Linked DNA regions of Homo sapiens: region 2 is linked to region 1. The links are contacts of gene promoters, found by promoter capture Hi-C in human tissues and cell types (Jung and others, 2019). All regions are on one chromosome and are shown on one strand. Each heading gives the region's core, a stretch centred on a gene start or on the middle of the fragment in contact. The rest is flanking DNA. Distances are from core to core; before and after follow the strand shown. Region 1 holds the start of IZUMO1 (izumo sperm-oocyte fusion 1). Region 2 holds the start of HRC (histidine rich calcium binding protein).

Evidence for each region. The method cuts DNA at HindIII sites, captures the fragments that hold promoters and counts their contacts. A contact is called where the count stands out against the background at its distance.
Region 2: a contact is called between the fragment with the promoter of HRC here and the fragment with the promoter of IZUMO1 in region 1, in 1 of the 25 tissues and cell types used here (lymphoblastoid cells).

What each region holds. Positions count from the first base shown.
Region 1 is chr19:48,745,387-48,751,858 of GRCh38, forward strand. It overlaps IZUMO1 (izumo sperm-oocyte fusion 1), which reads right to left and starts at 1,523. Exons shown (of 10, transcript NM_182575.3): 1 at 1,049-1,523; 2 at 239-546. The coding sequence starts at 473. FUT1 (fucosyltransferase 1 (H blood group)) reads right to left here. Exons shown (of 2, transcript NM_001384359.1): 2 at 2,625-5,897. The coding sequence starts at 5,895. The coding sequence ends at 4,798. RefSeq lists a cis regulatory region at 1-242 and enhancers at 1,018-1,803, 1,804-2,589, 5,612-6,251. The HindIII fragment of the contact is 12,211 bases long and covers 1-6,472 here.
Region 2 is chr19:49,154,146-49,160,203 of GRCh38, forward strand. It overlaps HRC (histidine rich calcium binding protein), which reads right to left and starts at 1,251. Exons shown (of 6, transcript NM_002152.3): 1 at 1-1,251. The coding sequence starts at 1,092. TRPM4 (transient receptor potential cation channel subfamily M member 4) reads left to right here and starts at 3,647. Exons shown (of 25, transcript NM_017636.4): 1 at 3,647-3,745; 2 at 4,047-4,114. The coding sequence starts at 3,722. RefSeq lists an enhancer at 3,381-4,002 and a silencer at 4,686-4,872. The HindIII fragment of the contact is 31,868 bases long and covers 1-6,058 here.

The DNA.
Region 1 (6,472 bases), core at 273-2,772:
AGGCCTGGTTAAGGACTCAGCCGCCCGTTGCCTTCTGGGAGTTGTAGTTTTATTACATAAAATTGCCAGCCGAGGATAGGGAAAACGGTATTTACTAGCCTCGGGGAACCTCGGAATCTGCATCTCAGCCTTCTCCATTCCCGAATCCCGGAGACCCTGCTGTCAGCCTCTTCCTTCCCCTGGTCTTATCTCCCTCCTTTCCCAGGACCCAGGGGTCCGTGGTCCCCCCTGCCCTCACCAACGACCCCCATATAGGCATCCTCATTAAGCGACAGTTCCTGGAAATCCTTCACGGCATTCTCTACCCTTTCCATCATGGCTTTGTGATGCTTCGCATCCAGGTGGCCAGGCAGGTAATCTTTCTCCAGGGACTTTAGCGCCAGCACGACAGACGGGTCACATATAACACACCCCTCGGCAGGAAGCAAGCAACCGGCCAGCGCCGCACACAGGAGGGTAAAATGCGGCCCCATTGCAGCCGGCGCGCACAGTTCCCGAAGACCGTTAGGAAGGGTGCTCTCACCCCAAACCGAGAGCAGGAGAACGCTAAACGGAGAAAAGCCAAAATCCATCTTAAGAAATCCCACTGGGCCGCCTATCCATGGGGTCCGCAAACCTCGAAAAGAGGATCTTCAGGAAATCTCCAAATAAAGAGGACCTATGTCCTTCATCAAATGCCTCCGAAGTGTGAAACTGAGCCCCAATCCAGGGGACCCAAAATTTAGGGTTCTCACTGAATCCCCCAACTGAGAGATCAGAAAAACTATTAAACAGGAATCACTCATAAGTCCCCAAACTCAGAACCTGGAATCTCCCAACCCCATGCGCCCCTTCCCAAAATCCCAAACTGTGGAATTTTCCAAGTCCCCAGATTGACGTGAGCCTGAACTCCAACCCTTAAGAGCAACACCGAGGCACTCCCCCGCCAGCCCCCCAAAACCTGTTGAACCTCAAGCTGAAGATTCAATGCCCAAACCAATAAACATCTAACACAGACCCAACCACGATATTATCAAACTCGGAACTCCTTCAAAACCAAAACACATACCAGATTCCTAGAACTGAGGACCCCACTAACACTTAAGCGAGACTCCATGCGGTCCTCTAGACCTAGGGGGCCCTTGTTCACCCTTCCCCAAAACTAACGGGCTCCCAATTTGCAGGGCGCACCCTTCCGCTTAGAAAAAGGAGCCCCGATGCATCCTGAACAGTGATGCACCCTAAACAGCCGCTCCCCGACCTTGGTTCCCGATTTGTGGCCTCTAACACTAGGGTTCATTGAGGAGCCCGGTCCAGGTTCTGAGGGCTTTTAAAGAGGAAGCCGGGGTCATGACCACCTACGCTAATTTTCCCAGGGGTAAAATCAAGGATTGTGTTGGGGACGAGGGTAAGGTTGGTTGCGTGAAATCGAGAGCTTTTCGACGGGGTCTGAGTCACGGACGATCCCCTCTCCACAAGGAACTCCTGAAACCACCCCCTCCGAGCTTCTCACGTAGGGGCCCGAATTCCTTTATAGATATTCCTTGGGGTTTTCCTCGGCCCCACCCAGAAACTCAACTCTGTCTGATTGGACTGCAACAAAGGGAGGTCCCGCCCATCGCTCCATGACGTCACAGAGGCTGCAGCCTTTTTGGACTAGAATTTTCCCAGCATCTAGGGAAGAGGAAGCCTCCTGACTACTCTGGCTTCCAGAGTCAAGGACCGGACTCAGGCCTTCAGTTTCCTCCCCTCCCCTTGCCCCAGGACCCAGGCTTTGGGCTAGATCCGGCCCCCCAGGCCGCTGCCGCCCCCACCGCGGTCCTTGGAAACGGCTGTCGAGCCACGAAGTGGACATTTTAGCCCTAAGACTACAACTCCCAAAATGCCCTGGGGCCTCTTTCTCTGTAGCTGACTGACGCTGCCAACCTCATAGCTTTCCGGGAAATGTAGTTCAGTGATAATCCGCTCCCTCCTCCGCCTCTTCTGCCCACGCGGAGGTCCCAGTGGGAGGAGAGGACTGGGGGCCAATACTGACAGTCCAGGAGTGAGCAACTGGGGGCTCAGACGTTAGGGTCCTGGAAGGTCTCTCTCTCCTGTGTGATAGAAACAGGGAACCAGAAAAACAGGGACCACAACTCACACAAGTCCAGCAACAAGGGGCTGTCAGATCTAAGTAGGGACAGTACTCCCAATCACGAGTAATAAAAATCCTCAGGGCCCGGCGCGGTGGCTCACGCTTGTAATTCCAGCGCTTTGGGAGGCCGAGGCGGGCAGATTGTCTGAGGTCAGGAGTTCGAGGCCAGCCTGGCTAACATGGTGAAACCCCGTCTCTACTAAAAATACAAAAATTAGCTGGGCATGGTGGCGAACGTCTGTAGTCCCAGCTACTTGGGAGGCTGAGGCACCAGAATCCGAGAGGTGGGAGTTTGCAGTGGGCCGAGATCACACTACTGCACTCCAGCCTGGGCCACAGAGCAAGACTCGATCTCTGAAAAAAAATAAATTAATTAAAAAAAAATAAAAGTCTTCAGAAGTACCCCACCTTTTCCTCCACTCTCTTACACACACACACACACACACACACACACAAACCCACACACACATACACAGTGGCTCTGGCTCCAAAAAAGCTACAGAGACACGGGTTAGTGCTGTAGACTTTTAATTCATACCTCCTGCTCTCTCACCCGTGGCAGCTGAGTTGGGAACAGTACTGTAACAATTGTAACTGTAACTCCCTGATAAGCCTACAGGCATGGGGTCTGGATGAGTAGACAGGGGATGTGATCAGAGCTGACTATGTTTAAGGTTTCTTCTTTCACCCTCCAAAAAACAGCAAGGGGCTCCTGAGATCTCGACAACCCCGTCCACCTTGGCCAGACCTCGTGCTCCTGCCTGGATCTGAGGCTGGGTCCAGGGTCTGCCTACCTTTAGATCGTTTTATCTCAGACCTGCCCAAAGCCAGATGTAGTGGTTCTGGGAGTTCAGGGACAGACAGTGGTTAGCAATGAGCACGGTACCTGCCAGTTTGTCACAAGCACAGAGGGTGTGTTTATACCTGCACACTTCCAGAAAACAGATCCCAGACCCTCAGCAGCCCACCTGCAGACAAAGACCAACTTCCTTCATTGTGAGAGGCAACCTGAACTCACACCCAATATATGGAGCTCTTGGCAGTTTATGAGCTTTAAAAAAAAGTGTCCCTGGATCCCTGGAAAGTTCTGCTCCAGAAGCTGTACCATTTTGGCAGTGATCCCTCACCCCACGTTCACATTTTAGCCTGTCTGCTCAAAACAAACAAAAAAAAGTCTTTGAGGGGCTGTGGGGCTTGTTGGACAGAGTCCCGCTCTGCTCACCAACTACCCCAGCTTTTCCAGAGACTGTGAACAGAGCAAGACGCTGGCCAACTAGAGATGGTTTGTTTTCCATCTCAATTTTTCCAGCAATGGTGGAACATTCATTAGATGCTACAATTAGGTTGCACATTCATTAGATTCTTCACTTGGCCCGGTGTGCTGGCTCACATCTATAAACCCAGCATTCTGGGAGGCCAAGGTGGGAGGACTGCTTGAGCCCAGGAGTTGAAGAACAGCCTGGGCAATATCACAAGACCTCGTCTCTACAAAAATTAAAAAAAATTATCCGGGCCAGGCATGGTGGCTCACGCCGGTAATCCCAGCACTGTGGGAGGCCGAGGTGGGCAGATCACGAGGTCAGGAGATCGAGACCATCCTGGTTAACACGATGAAACCCCGTCTCTACTAAAAATACAAAAAAAATTAGCCGGGCGTGGTGGCGGGCGCCTGTAGTCCCAGCTACTCAGGAGGCTGAGGCAGAATGGCATGAACCCGGGAGGCAGAGCTTGCAGTGAGCTGAGATCGCGCCACTGCACTCTGGCCTGGGCTACAGAGCAAGACTCCGTCTCAATAAATAAATAAATAAATAAATAATTAAAAAAAAAATATCCGGGCTGGGCACAGTGGCTCATGCCAGTAATCCCAGCACTTTGGGAGGCCAAGACAGGTGGATGACAAGGTCAGGAGATCGAGACCATCCTGGCCAACATGGTGAAACCCTGTCTCTACTAAAAATACAAAAATTAGCCAGGCATAATGGCCTGTGCCTGTAGTCCCATCTACTCAGGAGGCTGAGACAGGAGAATCGCTTGAACACAGGAGGCGGAAGTTGCAGTGAGCCAAGATCACGCCACTGCACTCCAGCCTGGGCAACAGAGCGAGACCCTGTCTCCAAAAAAAAAAAAAAAAAACTAAAAAGATTCTTCACCTTAGTTATCTGGATTTCCAGAACCCCATCCTGTCCATAAGGGCCCTGCAGGGTTCTTCACAGGCATCAAACCTGGTCCTCTCTAGAACAAGTCTCCCTCTAGAATCACTCCAGAAACACAGAAGGGGACTTGGTGAATGCTTGCTCTGGAGCAATCATATGCTCCTTCAGTCTTTGGAGGACCCAGGGGAGAAGTAACCCCTCTTCTAGAGTAGACCAGAGGGAGAGTTCCCCATTCCTGGGGGCAGCCATCTGGAAGTACTGTAGATATGGGCTGGGAAGAGCAGGTGGGCACTGTGGCTTCTAGAACTGCCTGCCAGCCATCAGGAAAAGATGTTTTGCTAGTTCTAGAATATTCAGACAGTTCCAGAAACGTCCCCCTTCTCTCCAACTCTCCCAACTAGAATCACTCTGGATACGGGCACCCATTTGCTTCAGGAACACCACAAGCTTCTCCAGAAGATGCCAGGCCTCTGAAGCCACGTACTGCTGGCTCTAGAAAGATCAGGCTACTTCAGAAAGTCTCCCTGGCTCTCAAGGCTTAGCCAATGTCCAGAGTGGAGACAAGTCTGCATTAATGCCCACCCACTCGGGCAGGAAGGCCGCCTCCGGCTTAAAGATCTTCAGGAACTCAGAGTCTGGCAGGGTGAAGTTGGCCAGGTAGACAGTGTCTCCGCCAGCCAGGTAGGCAGCCCAGAAGCCGAAGGTGCCAATGGTCATAATGGTGTGGTTGCACTGTGTGAGCAGGGCAAAGTCTTTCCACGGTGTAGCCTCCTGTCCATCGCCAGCAAACGTCACATCGCCCTGGGAGGTGTCGATGTTTTCTTTACACCACTCCATGCCGTTGCTGGTGACCACGAAAACGGGGGCTTCGTGCCGTGCCCGGAACCAGTCCATGGCCTGCCGGAGGTAGGCGCTGTCGCCCACCACACCCTTCCAGCGCTGAGGCATAACCTGCAGATAGTCCCCACGGCGCACGTGGACGCCGACAAAGGTGCGCGGGCGGTCCCCTGTGCGGCCCAGGCGGAGCTGACCCAGCACACTCTGCGCCTCTTCCCGAAGGTGGTCGTGCAGGGTGAACTCTCTGCGGATCTGTTCCCGGAGATGGTGGAAGAAAGTCCAAGAGCAGGGGAAGCCAGAGAGCTTCAGGAAAGGATCTCTCAAGTCCGCGTACTCCTCCGACATCCAGTCGTGAAGCTGCAGCTCCCGCCACGGCGTGCGGCTGTCCACTTCTGGGGCCAGCACGGGCAGGGTGATGCGGAATACCGGGGCCAGGGCGGCATGCATGGCAGGCAGGATAAAGGCCCGGCGGCCGTTGAGCTGGGCCAGAGCCAGCAGCGTGGCATACTGTCCCATCTGATTACCAAACCGGCCATTGGGGTAGACAGTCCAGGTGCCGGAGAGGGAAGCAGGGTGCTGGGGACAGGAAGAGGAGGCGTTGGGGCCCATCGCAGTACCCGGCAGGCAGAAGATGGCCACTGGGGGTGTCACCAGGCGGCGGTCTGGACACAGGATCGACAGGCCTAGGCCATGTGGAAAGCTGTCTTGATGGATATGGAGGAAGAAGATTACAGAGAGGACACAGACTAGCAGGAAGGCCAGGCAGAGCTGACGATGGCTCCGGAGCCACATGGCTGCAGGGGAGGAAAGGCGAATTAGCAAATGCTCTGAGGCTGAGGAGGGGAGGCTGAGGAGGGATGTGGGGTAAGGGAGGCGCCTGGGGTGCAGCACTCCTTAGTCCCAGGGAAAGAGGAAGTTAAAGGTTTAGACTCCTGGGGCTGAGGTAGGGAGAGCCTGAGTCCTAGGTTTCAGGGATGAGAGCCTTGGAATTTCGGGGCATGGGGACTGGAAGACAAGTGGTTTTCAAGATAGCCATGGTTTGGCTGGGCACTGTGGCTCACACCTGTAATCCCAGCATATTGGGAGGCTGAGATGGGAGGATCCCTTGAGCCCAGGAGTTCAAGATCAGCCTGGGCAACAGAGCACTCTTACAAAAAAATTTTAAAATTAGCTTGGCATGGGCCAGGCGCGGTGGCTCACACCTGTAACCCCAGCACTTTGGGAGGCCAAGGTGGGTGGATCACCTGAGGTTGGGAGTTCGAGACCAGCCTGACCAACGTGGAGAAACCCTGTCTCTACTTAAAATACAAAATTAGCCGGGCATGGTGGCGCATGCCTGTAATCCCAGCCACTCGGGAGGCTGAGGCAG
Region 2 (6,058 bases), core at 1-2,500, 410 kb after region 1:
CTGGTGCCAACGTTCAGTGGACACATCCTCATCTTCTTCCTCGTCTCTGTGGCCTTGGTGCCTGTGGTCAGGGACATGATGGTGGTGTTCACCTGAGACAGCCTCAACCTCTTCCTTTCTGTGGTCTTGGTGCCTGTGGGCCTGGTGTCCATACTCAGTGGAGACATCATCATCATCATTGTCATCTTCTTCATGGCTTCGGTGCCTGTGGCTGGGGTCGCGATGATGGTGTCCATCTGAGACATCTTCATCCTCTTCAATCCCGTGGCCTTGGTGCCTGTGAGCCTGGTGTCTATATTCAATGGAGACATCATCATCATCATCATCATCATCATCATCATCATCATCATCGTCATCTTCTTCATGGCCTTGGTGCCTGTGGCTGGGGCCATGATGATGGTGTCCATCTGAGACATCCTCATCCTCTTCACTCCCATGGCCTCGGTGCCTGTGGGCCTGGTGTCCATACTCAGTGGAGGCCTCCTCTTCCTCCTCCTCCTCCTCCTCCTCCTCTTCTCCTTCATCATCTTCCCCATCATGGCCTCGGTGTCCATGCCTGAGGATATGATGGTGATGCTCACTGGACACAACTTCATCCTCATCCTCGTCTTGATGGCTGTGGCTCCTGTGGCTGGGGAGGTGGTGCCTGTGCTCAGCTGAGTCTTCCGTGTCTTCACTCCCGTGGCCTCTGTGCCCACGGGCCTGCCCACCATGCTCTGCAAAGACCTCCTCACCTGAGACACCCTCATCTCCGACTTTGTGGTCTTGGGACCTGTGGCCTGGGAGTAGGTGCCCATATTCCTTGGAGACATCTTCATCCTCCTTTTCACGGTCTGGGTGGCTCCAGAAATGATGCCCATTCTCTGTGGAAACATCCTTGTTCTCATCTGGATGGTCTCTAGGGCTGTGGAGGTGGTGGCGAAGCTCTGCTGATGCCTCCTCGGAGAGCCCGGCGACTCCAGTGCTGTTGTTCCGGTTTCTGAAGCCTAGCCCATCCCCTCTGAGCTGCTGGGTCATGGCCGGGGGGAGGAGCAGGCTGGCCACCCCAGCCCAGAGGACAGAAGCGTGCAGCCATGGCCTATGGTGGCCCATGGGGACGGACAGGCAGCACTGGCTCCAGCTGCCTCTGCGGCAATGTGGACAAACGTTGGGGTCTTTGTCCCTTTGGGGTTGGTCTCTTTTTTTCTCTGTGTCTCTCCTTTGTCCTTTCGGTCTCTGTCCACCTTCCTCTGGTCCTTGCTGCCTGGCTCTGGACACCCCTCTGAGGCTGTCTCCGGAGCCCCCTGACCCCCCTCTGGGGCCCTCCCTCCCCATTCCCCAGCCAATAGGGTCCTTCCCCTCCCCTCTCTCCAGCTAAATTTACTCTCAGCCCTGAGTTATTCTGGGTCAGTCCCCGCCTGCCTGCCTCCTGCTCCTCCTCCTCCCAGCTGGGGAGGGGACCAGTGAGGGGTCTCTCCCTGGCCAGGAGACGGTGGCCAAGGGACTTGACTTTGAACTACCAACAAGCTCACGTTTGGCAGCTGCAAAGACAAAGGCTAGACTTTTAGCAGGTTTTTGGGGGAGCCTGGGGCACCTGGGGGAGGCAGAAGAGACTTATCAGAGGGGAGAGACTCCTGGGACGGAAGGACTGGGGGTTCGATTGCGGGGTGTTTCCAGCTGGAATGATACGTGCTGGTGAGAGAGTGATGTCAGTATTGAGGCCCTAGAATGGGGGGAAAGGAACATGGCCCCCAACACACGTGCCCATGACCTCCTGTCCCTGGAACTCAGATCTGGGGGCAGGGACTGGGCTAGGCCAGGGCTATAAATACAGCTGGGAGGGGTAGGGGGACTCAGGTTACGGAGGCCACAGCTGTCCCCATCACAGAGGGCTGGCAGGAGACAAGTGGCCTTGCCCGTCTCTGTGTGTCAGTATTTCCTACTCCTCACCCTTCATGACTGCCCCCACTAGGGTCTCCTTTCCTGTTCACGGGTCCTCCTCTCTCTTCAATTCTGTCATCTGCTCTCTCAGGGTCCCTGTCCCTCCTCCATGGGATTGCCTCTCCCTCTCACTCTGGGCTTCTGTCCCACTCTTATCTTAGTGTCAGTCCTCCCCCAAGTCTGTGTCCCTCTCTCTCCCCTAAATCTCTGGCCCCTCCTTTCTGAGTTCCTGCCCTTCCCCCAATTCTTTGGTTTTTGCATCCCCCTCTGCCCCTTGCCTCAGTCAAGGTGTCTCCTCCCCATCTCTGGCATCCACCTCTCTGGGTCTCTGTCCCCACTCTCTCTCAGAGTCTCTGTCCCCCTCTGTCTCAGAGTCTCTGTCCACCTCTCCCTGGGTCTCTGTCCCCCTCTCTCTGGGTCTCTGTCCCCCTCTCCCTGGGTCTCTGTCCCCCTCTCTCTGTGGATCTCTGTCCCCCTCTCTCTGGGTCTCTGTTCCCCTCTCTCTGTGGGTCTCTGTCCCCCTCTCTCTGTGGATCTCTGTCCCCCTCTCTCTGGGTCTCTGTTCCCCTCTCTCTGTGGGTCTCTGTCCCCCTCTCTCTCTGGGTCTCTGTTCCCCTCTCTCTGGGTCTCTGTCCCCCTCTCTCAGGGTCTCTGTCCCCCTCTGTCTCAGAGTCTCTGTCCCCCTCTCTCTGGGTCTCTGTCCCCTCTCCCTGGGTCTCTGTACCCCTCTCCGTGGGTCTCTGTCCCCTCTCCCTGGGTCTCTGTCCCCCCATCCCTGGGTCTCTGTCCCCCCCTCTCTGGGTCTCTGTCCCCCTCTCTCTGGGTCTCTGTCCTCCTCTCTCTCTGGGTCTCTGTTCCCCTCTCTCTGGGTCTCTGTCCCCCTCTCTCTGGGTCTCTGTCCCCGTCTCTCTGGGTCTCTGTCCCCCTCTCTCTGGGTCTCTGTCCTCCTCTCTCTCTGGGTCTCTGTTCCCCTCTCTCTGGGTCTCTGTCCCCCTCTCTCTGGGTCTCTGTCCCCGTCTCTCTGGGTCTCTGTCCCCCTCTCTCTGGGTCTCTGTCCCCCTCTCTCTGGGTCTCTGTCCCCTCTCCCTGGGTCTCTGTCCCCCTCTCCGTGGGTCTCTGTCCCCTCTCCCTGGGTCTCTGTCCCCCCCTCCCTGGGTCTCTGTCCCCCCCTCTCTGGGTCTCTGTCCCCCCCTCTCTGGGTCTCTGTCCTCCTCTCCCTGGGTCTCTGTCCCCCTCTCTCTGTGGGTCTCTGTCCCACTCTCTCTGGGTCTCTGTCCCACTCTCTCTGGGTCTCTGTCCCCTCTCCCTGGGTCTCTGTCCCCCTCTCTCTGTGGGTCTCTGTCCCCCTCTCTCTCTGTCTATCCCTGGGTCCCTGCTGCCCCACCTTCTGATTCTCTGTCCCCTAAGTCTTTGTCTCCCCCTCTTTGGGTTAAATTGTCCCCTCCCTGTCTGGCATCCTCCTTTCTGAGTCTGTTCCCTCTCCGCCACTGGCCCCCAACTCCTTCTGTTCCCATCTCGCGCTTGCCCTTGGAGTCTCCCCTGTGTGTCTCTCTCCCCCCGGCCCGGACCTCTGCACCCCCCAGGTCGCTGTCCCTCTGTCCCCTTATCGCGGCCTGGGACCCGCCCTCTCCCCGCCTCCCGCTTTGGCGTCTCCAAGACTCCCCGCCCCCCAGACCTCGCCCCGCCCCAGGCTAGGCTGGAAAGTGGAGGATCCGGTTTGCTCTGGGCGGGTCTGGAAGCAGAGCCGGCGGAGGGAGCGCCGGGGCCCTGGGCTGCAGGAGGTTGCGGCGGCCGCGGCAGCATGGTGGTGCCGGAGAAGGAGCAGGTGAGCGCCGGACCAGGGTCTGCGGGAGCGCGGAGCTGGGGACCTCGCCTCCAGGCTCCCAGAGAGGAGGGCGCTGGACACCCAGATTCCTGGGTCAGACGGAGGAGGGGGATGGGAGGGTCCAGGTTCCAGGGTCCAGGGCATGGGGGTCGAGACTCCTGAGTCTGGAGCGGGAGGGCGCTGGGGGCCCGGACTCCTGTGTCCGTGGGGAGCGCACGGGGTGGGTGGCTCTGTGTCCCATAGGACAGAACTGGGTGCCCTCTCACCCCACTTCCACCCCTACATTTGTTCCTGTCCCCAGAGCTGGATCCCCAAGATCTTCAAGAAGAAGACCTGCACGACGTTCATAGTTGACTCCACAGATCCGGGGTGAGGAGTTCGCCCCTGGACTGACCCCAGAGGGTCCGCGGCCCGCTGACCCCGCCCGCGGATGGTCACGCCCCAGCCCTGCTCCTTCCCCATTCCTGGACTCGGGGACCTTCCCAAGGGCGTTCCTTGCCGACGCTCTCCCTCTAGGAGCGTTTGGGTCTGTGTAGACACCCCTCATTCCCCATTCGCCATTCTCCCGCTCAGGGTCAGTGTAGACGCTCCAGGGCTCGGTTCTGCTTCTTTCCTCCCCGATGTCTCTTCTATGTGCTTCTGTCTCTTCGTGTCACTTTCTGTGTCTCTGTCTTTCCCTTTTGGGTATTTCTGTTTCATTCATTCATTCATTCATTCATTCATTCATTCATCCATCCATGCAAGAAACCCTCACTCAGCGCTCCCAAGGTCCCTTTAGCCTAATTCAACGGCCCTGCCAGGGTTCCAATTTCCCCTGGGACACGTGCTGTGTGGCTTCGGGCAAATCATTTCACCTCTCTGGGTCCCGTTTCTCATCTGGGCATCAAAAGAGGCTTGATCTCCTGGGGTTATTATGAGAATTAAACAAGTTAATGCTTGTGATATTCCTGGCACAGCGCCCAGCACAGGACGCTGGGAAATATCTGCAGCTCCCACTGGGAGGTGGCAATTATTACCGCGGGCGGGCCCTGTCTTGGTGGCCGGGGACACCAATTGAGCTAGATAGGGTGTGTGCGTCCGCGAGGAGCTCCCGCCCTTCAGTGACGGCCTCTCAAGCGGATCCAGGCTTTCTAGTTTTTTTTTTTTTTTTTTTTTTTTTGAGACGGTGTCTCGCTCTGTCCCCCAGGCTGGAGTGCAGTGGCGCGATCTCGGCTCACTGCAAGCTCCGCCTCCCGGGTTCACGCCGTTTTCCTGCCTCAGCCTCCCGAGTAGCTGGGACTACAGGCGCCCGCCACCACGCCCGGCTAATTTTTTGTATTTTAGTAGAGACGGGGTTTCACCGTGTTGGCCAGGATGATCTCGATCTCCTGACCTTGTGATCCGCCCGCCTCAGCCCCTCAAAGTACTGGGATTACAGGCGTGAGCCATCGCGCTGGGCCAATTTTTTGTATTTTTTTTTTAGTAGAGACGGGGTTGCACCGTGTTAGCCAGATGGTCTCGATCTCCTGACCTCATGATCCGCCGGCCTCGGCCTCCCAAAGCGCTAGGATTACAGGTGTGAGCCACCGCACCTGGCCCAGGCTTTCTAGTTTTTTGTTTTTTGTTTTTTTGAGACAGAGTCTGGCTCTGTCGCCCAGGCTGGAGTGCAGTGTTGCGATATCAGCTCACTGCAACATCCACCTCCTGGGTTCAAGCAGTTCTCATGCCTCAGCCTCCCTAGTAGCTGGGATTACAGGTGCCTACCACCATGCCCAGCTAATTTTTTGTATTTTAGTAGAGACGGGATTTCACCCTGTTGCCCAGGTTGGTCTTGAACTCTTGATCTCAGGCAATGCACCTGCCTTGGCTTTCCAAAGTACTGGGATTACAGGTGTGAGCCACCGCGCCCAGCCCTCTAGTTGTTTTTCAAGACAGTTTTTGGGGTGCGGGAAGTATCCACATTCCTACTTCAGTGTGTATTTTGTTATGACTATATATTAGTGCAGTATGGCTTGTAAATGATGGATAAATAAACAGATATGCGCTTGTTGGACGTGAGTGCTCAAAACCTTTTTACTGATAGGTCAGTGTGGTCAAGACAATTTAGGAAACTCTGGTCTGGCCTGAGGAGGAAGAAACGCAGAAGATAATTATAGTAAGGCAAGGGGTTGCAGCTCCCAAAGACGAGCCACTGGGCTCTGTGAGAGCTGGGAGGAGGTGTTTGCTTAAGACTGGGAGGGGACACAAAATGTCACTAATGGTTTCTGGAGGGAGGAAGAGTGGCTAGTGAGGTGACATTTGAAAGTGAGCTGGAGAGAGGCCCATGGAAAGCGA